Regions from separate parts of the Homo sapiens genome. Here regions 1, 2, 3 and 4 are each linked to region 5. The links are contacts of gene promoters, found by promoter capture Hi-C in human tissues and cell types (Jung and others, 2019). All regions are on one chromosome and are shown on one strand. Each heading gives the region's core, a stretch centred on a gene start or on the middle of the fragment in contact. The rest is flanking DNA. Distances are from core to core; before and after follow the strand shown. Region 1 overlaps DGKB (diacylglycerol kinase beta). Region 2 overlaps DGKB (diacylglycerol kinase beta). Region 3 overlaps DGKB (diacylglycerol kinase beta). Region 4 overlaps DGKB (diacylglycerol kinase beta). Region 5 holds the start of ETV1 (ETS variant transcription factor 1).

Region 1 (2,700 bases), core at 59-2,558, 350 kb after region 5:
TTTTTTTTTTTTTTTTCCAGAAAGCAGTGCTTTTTTCCTCCTTTTCTGGTACTAAATTAAGATGATTTCTTTTTACTAAAGAATTCTGGTCATGTGTATACTCACTTACCGCTATATATTCTAGATAAACAGATATTAATTTCATAATTAAAAGTAATCTTGTGTAAATACCCTGCAGGCCTCAATGAATCAAACACATACTGTGTGTCAGGCCTCCCACTGTCTTCAAGTGGAATGTACTGGCTGGATAATTAGATAGTACATATTTTTTAACCTTATTTGCATGCATATTATATCTTTTGCACACTGACAAGCAGCAGTAACAACAAAAGTCAGATTACCACAGGGAATTCCCACAAAGAAGTCTTCATTCCTTATAATTTGCAGCCTAAATTAAAATAATTTGATCTTTGACAAGGATGAAATGTCAAGCAGAAGGGGGTCCTCTACAAGCCACGGCCTGTGGCTTCTGAAATCTGCCTAATTTATGTCAGTCACTTCTTAATACATATTTAAGTATTACACGAAAAAGATGATAAATATGCAATCTGACACCTTTGGTATTTCCCTGCTGTTAATTTATAAAGGTCTGGCTTCCCCCAAACTGACTAAAATCATTTAAATAACAGAAGAATCATGAAATAAGCTGGAGTCAGGGCCTGGCTTCCATTTTCACTCAATATTGAACACAGCAGGTAGTACACTAAGACAATTATTTGACTAGGCCTTAGAACCCCACTGTGACAAGTTACTTTCAGAATTAGTGAAGGAGGATTCCTTTGTTCATCTGCAGAAAAGGAGAGCATGTTGCAAAGAGGCTTCTTTTTTTTTTAAAAAAAAGAATTGAACCAGCTGAGTTACATGTGACAATTGAAAAACATGAGTGTATGCTATTATTCATGTTTTCACTCTTCAGAGTTTTGTCATGTGTAGTTTTAGGGAAACAGAGTAAGTAGCTCTCTGAGAAGTGAAAAAAAATTCTCAAACAGTCGCAAAGAACAAGGACTGATGAAGAACATTGATGTTCCTTTGAGAGCAGGACAATGTACTTAAATAAATTGCTATTTATTAATGATTTGTTTCCACTTGTTCTTGACCCTAGGCTACCTTCCTCTGTTTGCTTTAACGTTATGTTCATTAGTCTGGAAAATTTCAGTGCTGGTTCTGATGGAGACCAGTAATTGTAGCACACCAGTTGAGTGCATGAAAGTAAAAGCTGAGGTGAAGGCTATGAAATATAAACAAGTTATAGTACTGTGTCAGATAATATTTTCATTCCCTTTGAGATTTATGACTTTTAAAAAGGTAGCTACAGAGGAAAAGAATATAAAAGCTTAAAAGCTAACAGCCTCAGTTAGTCAATAAATCCTGAATATTTTTATTAGGTAGAAAAAAGGTCGTTAACATATAGTACTATGGGAGCTATTTATAGAGTGCAAGGCTGTGATGCCATTGTCTGCTCTTTTCAGTTTTAAAATAGAGGATCTTATTCCAGAGACAAATATAATTAAAAGAAAAGAAGACGGTTTCAATTTTTCTGCCAATGTGTTTTAACCTTCATAAATAAATGAGTCCTGGGTCACACCGTACAGAGGTGTTAAAAACAAGCTTTATATGTGACTTTAGTGTTTCAGATCCACTTAACATGTCAGTTGATAGGACTATTCAAAACATGTGAAGAACTTTGGAGAGCTCTAAGTGTGGATGGTAAATGTGATGAGATACAATTAATGATAAACTGTAATTTTTTTCCATAGTAGGTCTGATTCTATGTCTATATCAGATAAGAATTATTTCTATTTTTACTCAATGAAACGTAAAACATTACTTTATAGGTAATTTCAGTATTAGGACACATGGGGCAGAGACTATGCTTGGGAACTCTGGCTATTGCCTCTAAGAACTCTGTTTTCCAGGTTACTGAGCAATAAGAATATTGTCTTTTGAATCCTGCTAATTTATTTTGTGTTTTTGATGCTAGTCATGCCATTCATTAATTCTTGAGATCATTTAGGTTTCTAGGGGTATTTAATCATTACAATAAATCAGTACTTTGGGATGGAAATTCTTGGCTTTAAAATTTACCATCTTTCCCAGTATCCCTGTCAACCAAAAGACTGAAATATCTATAGAATAGGCTTTCTTATTCTCTCATTAACTTTGCCTGGTACTCTGAGCAAACTGAACATTCATGAACTCTGTATCTTCAATTCCAAATGCTGACCTGAGTTTCTTAGGCACACATTTCACCCCTCCAAATACTTTAATATAAACATTGGTTTTAAAATATTTTCTTGTAATTTTAAAGAATTTATTTTTATCTTTTGTAATAAAGTTAGAAGATAAATGAATATCTTTAAAAAATTCTACTTCGTGTATCATTAAATCTTTACATGTATGTGTAAATACATATATTTTTCAATCAATTTGCTCATTAGATTTAAACATTGTGGCAGCAACATAATTCTTATTTCTCTTAAATTACTGAAGAAAATGTTTATCTCTGCAATGGAGATATAACAGTATCATAAGGTTTTGATAAAGACTAAATCAAATAATATATGTGCATTGTTTAGCATCACCTGTGAGACAGTTAATAATAGGTAAATCTTAACTATTATTCCATGATATTCATATCAACCCAAATATTTGCCCTCTTTTGAAGGTGCTCACTATGTGAAAGAGAAATATTAAATAAAA
Region 2 (2,700 bases), core at 106-2,605, 330 kb after region 5:
GGACACAGGAAGGGGAACATCACACTCTGGGGACTGTTGTGGGGTGAGGGGAGGGGGGAGGGATAGCATTAGGAGATATACCTAATGCTAGATGACGAGTTAGTGGGTGCAGCACACCAGCGTGGCACATGTATACGTATGTAACTAACCTGCACAATGTGCACATGTACCCTAAAACTTAAAGTATAATAATAAAAAAAAATATTGCAATAAATGGAATGTAGAAGCAGATATGAGAATCCAGCTGTCTTCTATTAGACCAGACATTACAGAGATTTATAAAAAGCAATACAGTGCCACTCTTCTTACTAAATTTTTGTTTTTTAAATATAGTTATTTAAAAATATATTTATAGTAACATGTAATAGGTTTATTAAGACTTTTAAATGAATACATATTTTAATAATTTCTCAGCCTTAATGTTTTATATGGTAACAATAGATGTACCTCACATAAGCAAAAGTTCTTTAGGATTTTCAATAATTTTTAAGAGTATGAAGGGATCCTGAGACTAAAAGTTTGAGAACCAGTGTACTCTTTGGCTAATTGGGCTAGATGAGCAATAAATGATATGTAGGCTGTAGATCTTATAAGATAATGACTTGCCAGGGTGTGAAAGATAAATCCTCTAAAGAGTCAATTCATCTTTGTATTATGCATCCAGTGGTCTATAGTATGTCAGGACATGTTCTCCAAAATAAAAGATAAAGTATTGTATTTTATACTTACAGCACTAAGAAAAAGTGCAATGTTGGTACCTTGTCCCCATTCCTATAAGTTCATCCACAAGCATCTTCTTTGGAACACTTTGTTAAGATCTACAGGTCCATTTGTATTCTCACCTTGGGCTACTCTCTATACAAAGGATAACTGGGCAGGCTCCCAGAGCTCTGCTCATTGGGAATTTCTCCTTTCCACTACCCCAAAAGCAGCACTGCTGGAATAGCAGCCCTTTTTTAGAAGCACACTAACAAAGCAAGATAAACTATTCAAGAACTCTCATTAAAGCTTTTCCTTCTCTGACATTTGGTCCTAAGAGTCATAGGTGGGAGCTGAGGGGGAGGCGGGGGTCCAGCAGTGGTGGGAACAACAGACACTCATGCAGCTTTCCTCGCTCTCTGGCCCTACATGTCTGATCCAGGTGTTCTATCTACTTCTATCTTACAATGAATTCTGAGCTTATGACTTGGTTGGTCTAACAAAACTCAGCATATGGTGGGCCCTGTGATTTCATTATGGTCACTTGCTATGGTCAGATGATCCATATTTATAGAGTCCAAGTAGCACGTCCAGAGCTTGTTCTCAGTTGACATATAGTTTTCTGCTGCCAATGCCATAGCCTTGCTCCACAGCCTTAGACTACATTGTGATTCTCTTATTGAAGTGTGTCATCAACTCCACAAAGCATCTTTTCCACATATATATATGTACCGCATATGCGGTACATATATGTACTATATAGTACATATATATATGTGTACATATATAGTACATATATATAGTACATATATGTGGTACATATATATATATAGTCCTGTAGGGTCTGTCCTATAACTTAAGTTACAGGGCTGCTTGCATTTCAGATTGACCTATAATAGAATCATTTTATGGTCTGCATCTGACACAAAGCTATAAGCCTCTGTTATTAGATAAAGTAGTTAGAGCCATACTCACAAGTGCAGGTCATACTGCCTACCAACTTTGCCCTTTCTGTTTGCATAACCTTATTAAATAAACCTAATGATGACATGATAGGAAAAATAATTCATGACCATTCTCATGAACATAGATGCAAAATTTTAAATGTAATATTAATAAATAAAATCCAGTGTTGTATAACAAGATAATACAACATTCCAAGTTAGATTTATTTAAGGAATACACGGTTGCTTTAAAATTTAAAAATTCAGCAGCCAGGAAAGGTGGCTCATGCCAGTAATCACAGCACTTTGGGAGGATGAGGCGGGCGGATGACTTGAGCCCAGGAGTTTGAGACCATTCTGGAAAACATGGCAAATCCCTGTCCCTACAAAAAATACAAAACTTAGCCAGACATGATGGCACATGCCAGTGGTCCCAGCCGCTTGGGAAGCTGAGGTGGGAGAATCTCTTGAGCCCAGGAGGCAGAGGCTGCAGTAAGCCAGTATCACATCACTGCACTTCAGCCTGGGCAACAGAGTGATACCCTGTCTCAGAAAAAAAATTAAGCAATGTAATTCTCCACATTCACAGGATAAAGAATAAAAAGTATGATTCTCTCAATAGATGAAAAACAATAATTTTATAAAAATCAACATGTATTTATAACAAAACATAGTAAATTTGAAATAAAGAAGAAATCTTTAACCTGAAAAGGTGTATCCATAAAAGTATACAAGGAACATTAGAGAAATGGTGAACTATTGAAATCTCCCCCACAGCCTCCAATATCAAGAACAAGACACCAACGTCCATTTTCACCCCATGTATTCAGCCTTGCACTGGAGACTTTAAACAGAGAAATAAGAAAAAAAAAAAAAAAAGAAAAGGATTAAGGGTAAAAAAAGAAGGAATGAACCATCATCATTTATTGATGGCATGATATTTATTTAAAGTCCAACAGTCTATAGATACAGTATTAGAATTGATAAGTGATTTTAGAAAGCTGTGTATTTTGGTACAACAAAAACAATTAGAGAGTAAAAGTTAGAAAATATATTT
Region 3 (2,700 bases), core at 180-2,679, 310 kb after region 5:
CACTGTTTCATATGGCACACACAGCCTGTAATATATTTGTATATATTTGACAGGATTTTAATAGCCATGGTTTTAATAATAAAAGATTACACTTTTTCTGAAGTTTATCTGTTTGCAGTCTTTGATATTTTATGGGTTTTAAAACATGCATCATCTTATAAATATATTTCCAAAGCCTAAAATCTTGGGATATATTTTTAAATTAAAATGTTAAACAATAACACCAAAGAAGAAAATCTCATTTGACTAGGCTACATAGTAACAGTGGGATAGAATAGTTGATCCACAGTGCAACTTTTCTTGGGCATTGGTGTCTCTATCTTTTCTATTTTCTATATCCTACACACCCTAACAATTGGCAAGTCATGAGATTTCTACTTAGAAGAAAAACCATTCTATTTTCACAAATACCATACCCAGTCAAGACATCTTCATGTACTGCAGAGACAACAGCAATACTGATCTAATTTGCATTCCATCTTCAAATCTTACTGTTTAAATTAATCCTCATAAGAGCAGTCAGTAATCTTTTAAAAAGATAGATTAGGGAATGTTACTTATTGTAATAAGAACTTGGTAATTTGGGCCAATCCTACCAATGTGGACAACTTGTGCTGCTGTATACATATACATCTCCAGATGCATCTTTGTGTATATATACATGAATAGGTGTGTACACACACACACATACACACACATTTGAAGGCTTAGAAGACTAATAAGAGAGTAAAAAAATGGTGTTACCATCTGGCTAAAGATGGAGATCTGGAGAGGTGGGCTACTCTTGCCTTATGGGTTTTCACTCATTTCAGGAGGGTTGGTTGATCAAGTGTACAGTGCTTTTGTCAGACTCATGGGACTGAGTCCAGGGTCTACCAAAGTATGGGGCTTGGCAAATGTCCCTGGTCTTGGGTTGGGACCCCAAATGGCAGTGCTTTAGCAATAAAAGAAAATCAGAATCAGGCACTCTCACAAGGACCACAGCTTTGCTTTGATTCTCTCCATCTCTGTAATCCTACAGAGCAAGGACGATGAACAAACCAAAGCCAAAGCCAACAAAAAGCAAATTCCACAAACATAGCATGGAATAAATGTACCTAGACACAAAAGAATAGATACTAAGTTATTTTATTTATTTCAACACACAATATATAATGTTTAGGAATGTATTCTTAGGTGTTAAGGTCATATGAAAAATCAAGAAAGTATTTATAATAAAAGGCAAGATAATGGTTCCTCTGGTGTACAGAGGAGAGAGAACATAAGAAAATCTTCTGTGTTACTGCCAATCTTCCTCTATTTTGGAGTGATGTGTACACATATGATCACTTTGTGATAAATCAGCAAGTGTATATTTTATTTTGAAATTTGTGTACCTGTGTGCTGTATTTATACTAAGAATGTTAAATTGTAAGTTAGATCATATTACTCTGTATTGAAAATATTCCAGTTACCTGTGATTGTCTACCTCCCTGTTCTCATCTGGAAACAGCCTGCCCCCGGCCCCATTGCTCGTTTTACTCTAGGTACATGGAATTCCTTGCTCTTGTTCAAAAGGACAAAAATCTTGCCCATTTTAGTCTTTGGACTTGAACTTTCTTCTCTTCCTGCAATACACTTTTATTGACTTGATCCATAATTGTTTCCCAATCCTTCAGCCCCCTATTAATTGTAGCCTTCTTAGAGACGTATTTCTTGACCAGTCATTCTAAATTGACAACTGAAAACCCAACAAATGCTCCATATCGCCTTGTTTATTTCCTTCATATTGGAAAGCAGATGATGACATTTGATTTGTAATTAATATATCTTTTATCCAAGGTAAAATATTTGCTGTAATGTAAGATCTATGATGGGAGGTATACTTTTGGTTTTTATTCTCAGCACTAAATGAATCATAGGCCAACGAAAATTATTTTGAGAAAAGACTTTGTGCAATTCCTAAAAATTAGTCTATTATACCATGGGTGGTAGGAGAAGCTTAGGATCTCATCATATAATTTGGTTATCCTAGCTATGCTGCTAAGCAAAACAAATATTTATTTAGCCCAGATATGTAGAATTATCTTAGACAAATTTTCATATGTGTCCAGTGCCAGTTTTCAAAATGACGTCTTTTTATGGCAACACCTAAGTGAAGTATTTCTTTCAGGGACATTATACACAAAGGAAAGTAAATGTTTTAGTTCAGGTGGTAATGACAAAGTTTTCGTAATGATACAAGTTATTTGTAATGCTAAAGTTATTGCGTTTCATTTTTACTTGAGGAATTACATATGCCATTTTAGAAACTTTACTTGGATGTGTATGACTGTATTTCCCGCCGTAGTTAGTTTTTAAGAAAGAATGTTTCACCTAAAGCCATATTCACCTTTCCAGAGTAAAAAATCAATATTTAGCCTTAAATTAATAAACTATGTTTTTGTTATTATTGGTCCTTTTGATACTGTATCTCTTTCCATTTCATTAAAATTAAATAACTTACCTGCCATATTTATTATCTGAATACTAATTTATTTTCCCATTTAATTTTTTTCTTTACTCTTTGGTGTTTCTTTGCTCAGACCAAACCTAGTCTTGATCTAGTTGCACTGTGCTTTCTTTGAAGTTCAAATGCATCTAATGAATCATGGCAGTACTCTCTATCACCTTACAGGCATCAAAGTAAATCAGCCAGAACAGGGATAGAAATTCCAAAGG
Region 4 (2,700 bases), core at 156-2,655, 290 kb after region 5:
GAAATGATGTACATATGTAGTTTATGGATTCAGGGTCATTGTTCTATAGTCAGAGCCAAGATATTTATATCAAGTACTGTGGGCTTTCTGATTTATTACATTGTTGTATTGACACAAGGCAGAAGTGCTAGTTTTGAGAATAATTTGGGATATTAGTTGAATGGTAAATTTTCACGTGATAAGGTTCAGAAAATAGATTTTAACTGAATGACAACTCTACATACAAATACTGGCTGTATCTCCACTGGCTAAGCTCATTTTTCTTTTGAAAAGGTGTCTTCTAAAACTATACAGACATGATACCACTCAGTTGTTACTAGTAAGTAGCTTTAAGTTCATTCTTTGTGTAATTTACTTTTTTAAAATTTAGTTCATATTGAGGTGAGTATGTATATATGTGTGCAAAAAAGATGTCTGAATATCAGTAATTTCTCATTGTACTAACAGATAATCAAGATGACAATACCTAAGTTTATTTACAAACTTTACTTCAGGAATTACTCTTTTGAGGATTTTAAATTATTAGAAACATATTTGTATTTCATTGTTTTGTGGGAGATTATTCTAGACCTCATGACAAATGTCCCTTTTTGATACACTTGAGGGGCTTTGGCTAATAGGAGTTCATAAGTTGCTTTGCTCAACTGCAAGACGGTTCCAGGATTTACAGTAGCAGGTGATTGCCAGTTTGGTCAATGAATGGCTGTTAGCTCCTGAATAGCTCCTCAAAAGAATGTGACAGCCCCATGATCCACATGTTCCTCTGCTCTTGGCACTGTACTCAGGAGATTCCTTGAAGGTGATACGCAGTGATAGTTTCAGTGTTTGGAAACAGCCTCCAAATTTTATTTTATTTTTTCTCTCGGCAACGACTAATCCTACCTTAATCCACCTGGCTGGAGTTTTCTTACTAAAATGCAGACCTCCTCAAGTCACTTTCTACTAAACTCTTCAATGAATCCTAGTTACCCCAAACTCAAAATTGTTGGCATGGCATAAAAGGCCCTCCCTGCTTGCTTTTATATTATCTTTATCACTTGATACCTTTCCGCATTAACATCAGACTTATAGTTTCTCACTCTGTATTGTTTCTAACTTTATGTGTGTCTTAGTTTGTGCTGCTATTAAAAAATGTCATAGACTGAATGACATAACAATAAAATATTCATCTCTTACAGTTTAGAAGGCTGGGAAGTCCAAGATCAAGGTGACAGTGAATTTGGTATCTGGTATTTGGTATCTGGTGAGGGCTCTCTTGTTGGTTTGCGTACACTTTCTTCTTGTTGTGTTCTCAAATGGCAGAAAGAGGGAGAGGGCTCTGGTCTGCTTTTTTTTTCTTATAAAGGCACTAATCCCGTCATAGAGGCTCCACCTTCATTACCTCATCTACACTTCATTACCTCTAAAAGGCCTCACCTCTAAATCCTATCACATTGAGGATTAGAAGGTCAAATATGCATTTTTTGGGGGGTGCACTTCAGTCCATAGCAGTGTGTGTGTGTGTGTGTGTGTGTGTGTGTGTTTGTGTGTGCGTGTTATAAATGTGATTTCTTCTGTTTGAAATGGCCTTCTCTGTTGTCCTAGATGAAAGTATTTTCCTTCTTTAAAATACAGATTAAACATCACTTTCTCTGAAGCATCTCTCTGTCACCTCTGGGCAGAAATAATTCACAGTTTTTATGTTACCATTGCCTTGAATATACTTAAGTTCTATGTTTATTCTCATGACATTATAGATTTGTTTTGCTTTGTATTGTTTTGTTTTTAAATGTGCATATCTTCTCATCTTAAGGCAGTTACCATATTTCATACATCTTTATAGTCCCAACTCCTAATACAGGCCCTGGTATAGGGTTGACACACAATAAAAAGTTTTTGTATGAATATTTCTTGAAATAATATTGGATTATGAGCATTCTTTTCACCAAGAATGAAACACAAAGTCCTTGGTCACAATTTGACATGAGCCTACTTCTTCAACTAATCCAGGCTTACATTTAAATCTTTCCACATTTTTTTTCCTTCTAATAGCTTTTCATGCAGACAGAGGAAAGCAACATTTAACAAGCACTTAATTGCAACATGTGGGAATGAGTCAAATAGTGGTCATGTGTGGAACTTTTAATAGCGCCAATTCACATAGGGTCTCTGCTCGCTAGAAAGGCCATGCTTCCTCTGCCTCAGATATTTGACAGAAGACAAGCAACAGCTGAAACAAATACTGTCTTTAAACAAATCAACTAGCAATTCTTAATAGTGGTAGGTTTAACAATTACATAATGTCAGTGATGTCCCACCAGTAACAGATTAGAAGAATTCCAAGTTTGGAAACATCTCTAAAACTAATTCATAATTGCCATGATATGATGATGAGGCCAAATTTTGGCACAATGCAAATTTTAAATAACAGAATAAGCTGTCATTTAGTCCTGACTTTGTACAGTAGGTGAGCGTTTAATTAATTCTTATCTAATTCATAGAGTAAAGAAATTACTCTTTACTAACATAAAGACAGATTTCTGAAATCCTCTTCTTGCTTTTAGTTGCTAGCCTCACATACTATAGTGATAGACCTATTCGTATACAGGGAATATTTGGGGGCTTTTAATATTCAAAAATTAGATGGTACAAAGTTCATATCACTATGAGGCAAATCACTGAAGCTTTATTCTCAACTTAGCACAGTTCCATGTAATCTGC
Region 5 (2,700 bases), core at 44-2,543:
GGCAGGGAGAGTTGCTTCCCAGTGCCGATCTTAGCACATTACTATTTATCAATCATATATTCATGGTATCTCAGCATCAAAACAACCTGAAGCATTTACACTTAAAGTTGTTTTTAGGCTGGTTCAATGCTAGATTAAAACAGTGGGTTTTATTCTCTCTTGGACAGCCCCTCCTCCCCACCCCACCCCCACAAAAAAAAAAAGCAAAAAGAGTAGAGAAATGAAAAAAAAAAAAAAGAGAAAATGAGAAAAAAAAAAGAAACAAAAACACCCCATATAAACAAAAAGTGTCAGCATTTGTCTCAACTTCATTCTTTTCAATGTGGCAGACAAACCCAGCCAAAAACTTTGAGTGCAGCAGCTGCTGCTGCCCTCCATCTCCTCTTCCACTCATGTTGGGCACTTTAATCAGAAAAAGGGGTCTTAAAAACAAAACTATGCCTTATCCAAATCACTGAAAGGTAAGCTCATTTTGAAGACTGGGCTTCTAGAAGCAGAGTCGCCCTACAGTGGCAACAAAGCAGATAAGTATCTGCAATCCCAACCCCCGTGCCCCCTCCCTTCTCATTTTCTCCCTCTCCCCACCCCCGACGGAGTCAAGTTTATAAACAGCAACTTTCAAACTGATCACTCACATTGGTGACCATGTAAGGCACTTGCTGGTCATAAAATCCATCCATGCTGCTGCTCTTCGCAAATCTCAGCTCAGTATTTTATATTTTGAGCATTTAGCTGGAGATTTCCTCAGGATCTGGACTTCTATCAACCTAGAGGGGAACAAGATGGCTTTTAGGCTTAAAAAAAAATCATGAATGAAGCTCTTGAATTTGCATAGCTAATTACCCTCCGACAGTCCCATTCACAAAAATAACCCTCCCTACACCGCCTCCTTCACCTGGATCCAAAGAGAGCCAACAGAGTTCACAATTTACATATTTTCGGTAGTAGCAAAAATCCGAACAAGAGGCGATGTATTTATTTACACTCTCGATGTTTCCCTGCGCGGTCGGTGTACCCCGGGCAGCTCTGATTCGCAAACGTGTGCAAAACTAGCAATGGCGATCAACGAGACTTGCTTTGCACCTAACGGGACTAAAGAGACGGAGACACCTCTTTCATCAGGATAGTTTTTGCGACCCACAACCATGCAATTATCTGGAGAGACATAAAAAGTTGTTGGAAAGACCCACCTGAAGGCCACGCTAGGCGAAAGGCTGCAAAAACTTCCCTCCAAATTTAATAAAAACATTAATTATAGCCCAGCACTTCCCCCTTGGAAGCCGAAAGCGCCTCTGACAGAGCTCAATTCGGTGGTTTTTCCTCTACTTCTCCTCCAGGGGCCTCCAATCCAAACTGATGGATCGCTGCCTCCCATTGGCTCCGCGTCTCTTTCACAAGATCAGATTTCGGGCTGTCAATCAGGCGGCTTGCTGCCCCTTCCCGCGGGTCTCCCTCGCCCCTCTGCCCTAGGGGGTGCTCGGCCGGTAGGCGCTGGGTCCTCAGCCTGGAAGCGCCACGGAGAGACTCGATTTCCTCTGTAACCCGCTGCTTATTGTTAAGGCGCCTGGGGATACTGAAACCGTGTGTTTCGAGTCGCCAGTTCCCATTATTGGGGTGTTAGGTCCACTATTGGGCTGGTTTCCTTAAAGTACTGTTGTGCGGTTCTGGTATACCCTTAGAGCCGCGATCCACAAAGCCCGTACCGCCTTATTCAGCTGCCCTCCCCTCAGGATCTCCAACCTCTCTACTCTTGCCCTGACTAGGAGCTCACCTCGCTCTCTATCCTCATTCCCACTCAGCTTTTGGCCCAATTTATTTTCCCGTTTTTCAAAACCCACCATCACCATTATGGTTTATCGAAACATTTTTTAAACAGTCATCCTCAACTAAAATTAGATCCTATCGTTCGTGGGACAGAAACATAAAGAATCTATAAGGAAGGCACCTAGGAGATGCAGAATTGCTGATTAGCAGAGGTTGTGATGGGAGGACAACAGAGCAAGCTAGGTGAAAAAGTATAAGTCAAAATGGTCCCTACGTGTGCACTGGGAAAAGGTACTTCCAGTCCACTGTGGCTGTGGGGAGGAGGAGGGAGTGCTTGGGGTTGCTCGTATATCCTAGAACCCGCACGTTTCCTGAGCTTTTGTTATGTATACACGGAGGCGGAGGGTGTCACTTACTGTACTTGACGCTTTCACTTCCTCTCCAGCTTTTAAACAGCCAGAGCCCAGGGTTGGGGGCGAGCGGTGAGATGGCTCGGGTTTCAAGGACAATAACTAGGACGTTAAGCAGTGAGGGCTGCATCTCTGAAGCCACTTGCCCTGATCCTCCTATGGGACTCAGAACAGTAAAGCGTCACTTTAAGGAGCCAGTGTCCAACAGCGGACGGGAGGCCGCGGGGATAGGACCAGGGACTCAATGCTGTTGAAATTCATTTGTGACCAGAACTAGTGACCAAAAGACGTTTCCGGCAGCTGTTCCGCCCGTTAGGAAACGTGCTGCAGTTCTCAATTTCTATTTGAAAGTTTCCTTCCTTAAATAGAACGTTATGGAGACACATTAAAATGGAGTGTAAGAGCGCACAGCACTCAACCCCGGACCTGGGCAGGAGAAAGATCTACTTAAAAAAGAAGCAAACAAACAAACAATCAACACTTATTACTGGGAAAACAACCAATAACTATGGACAGCAAAGACAGA

What was found. Contacts are between HindIII fragments. The study calls those that stand out against the background at their distance.
Region 1: a contact is called between a fragment that was not itself captured here and the fragment with the promoter of ETV1 in region 5, in 1 of the 25 tissues and cell types used here (hippocampus).
Region 2: a contact is called between a fragment that was not itself captured here and the fragment with the promoter of ETV1 in region 5, in 1 of the 25 tissues and cell types used here (mesenchymal stem cells).
Region 3: a contact is called between a fragment that was not itself captured here and the fragment with the promoter of ETV1 in region 5, in 2 of the 25 tissues and cell types used here (H1 embryonic stem cells and lymphoblastoid cells).
Region 4: a fragment that was not itself captured here is called in contact with the fragment with the promoter of ETV1 in region 5 in 2 of the 25 tissues and cell types used here (dorsolateral prefrontal cortex and hippocampus).

The regions. Positions count from the first base shown.
Region 1 is chr7:14,340,166-14,342,865 of GRCh38, forward strand. The region is part of intron 22 of DGKB (diacylglycerol kinase beta); the gene reads right to left. Among named protein-coding and RNA genes, the nearest start is that of ETV1, 350 kb to the left of the region's middle. RefSeq lists an enhancer at 1-950. The HindIII fragment of the contact is 4,367 bases long and covers 1-2,700 here.
Region 2 is chr7:14,319,098-14,321,797 of GRCh38, forward strand. All of the region lies in intron 23 of DGKB (diacylglycerol kinase beta), which reads right to left. Among named protein-coding and RNA genes, the nearest start is that of ETV1, 330 kb to the left of the region's middle. The HindIII fragment of the contact is 3,875 bases long and covers 1-2,700 here.
Region 3 is chr7:14,301,016-14,303,715 of GRCh38, forward strand. All of the region lies in intron 23 of DGKB (diacylglycerol kinase beta), which reads right to left. Among named protein-coding and RNA genes, the nearest start is that of ETV1, 310 kb to the left of the region's middle. The HindIII fragment of the contact is 4,003 bases long and covers 1-2,700 here.
Region 4 is chr7:14,273,453-14,276,152 of GRCh38, forward strand. The region is part of intron 23 of DGKB (diacylglycerol kinase beta); the gene reads right to left. Among named protein-coding and RNA genes, the nearest start is that of ETV1, 290 kb to the left of the region's middle. The HindIII fragment of the contact is 7,161 bases long and covers 1-2,700 here.
Region 5 is chr7:13,988,373-13,991,072 of GRCh38, forward strand. It overlaps ETV1 (ETS variant transcription factor 1), which reads right to left and starts at 1,294. Exons shown (of 14, transcript NM_004956.5): 1 at 1,191-1,294; 2 at 896-1,092; 3 at 636-767. The coding sequence starts at 680. The HindIII fragment of the contact is 5,948 bases long and covers 1-2,700 here.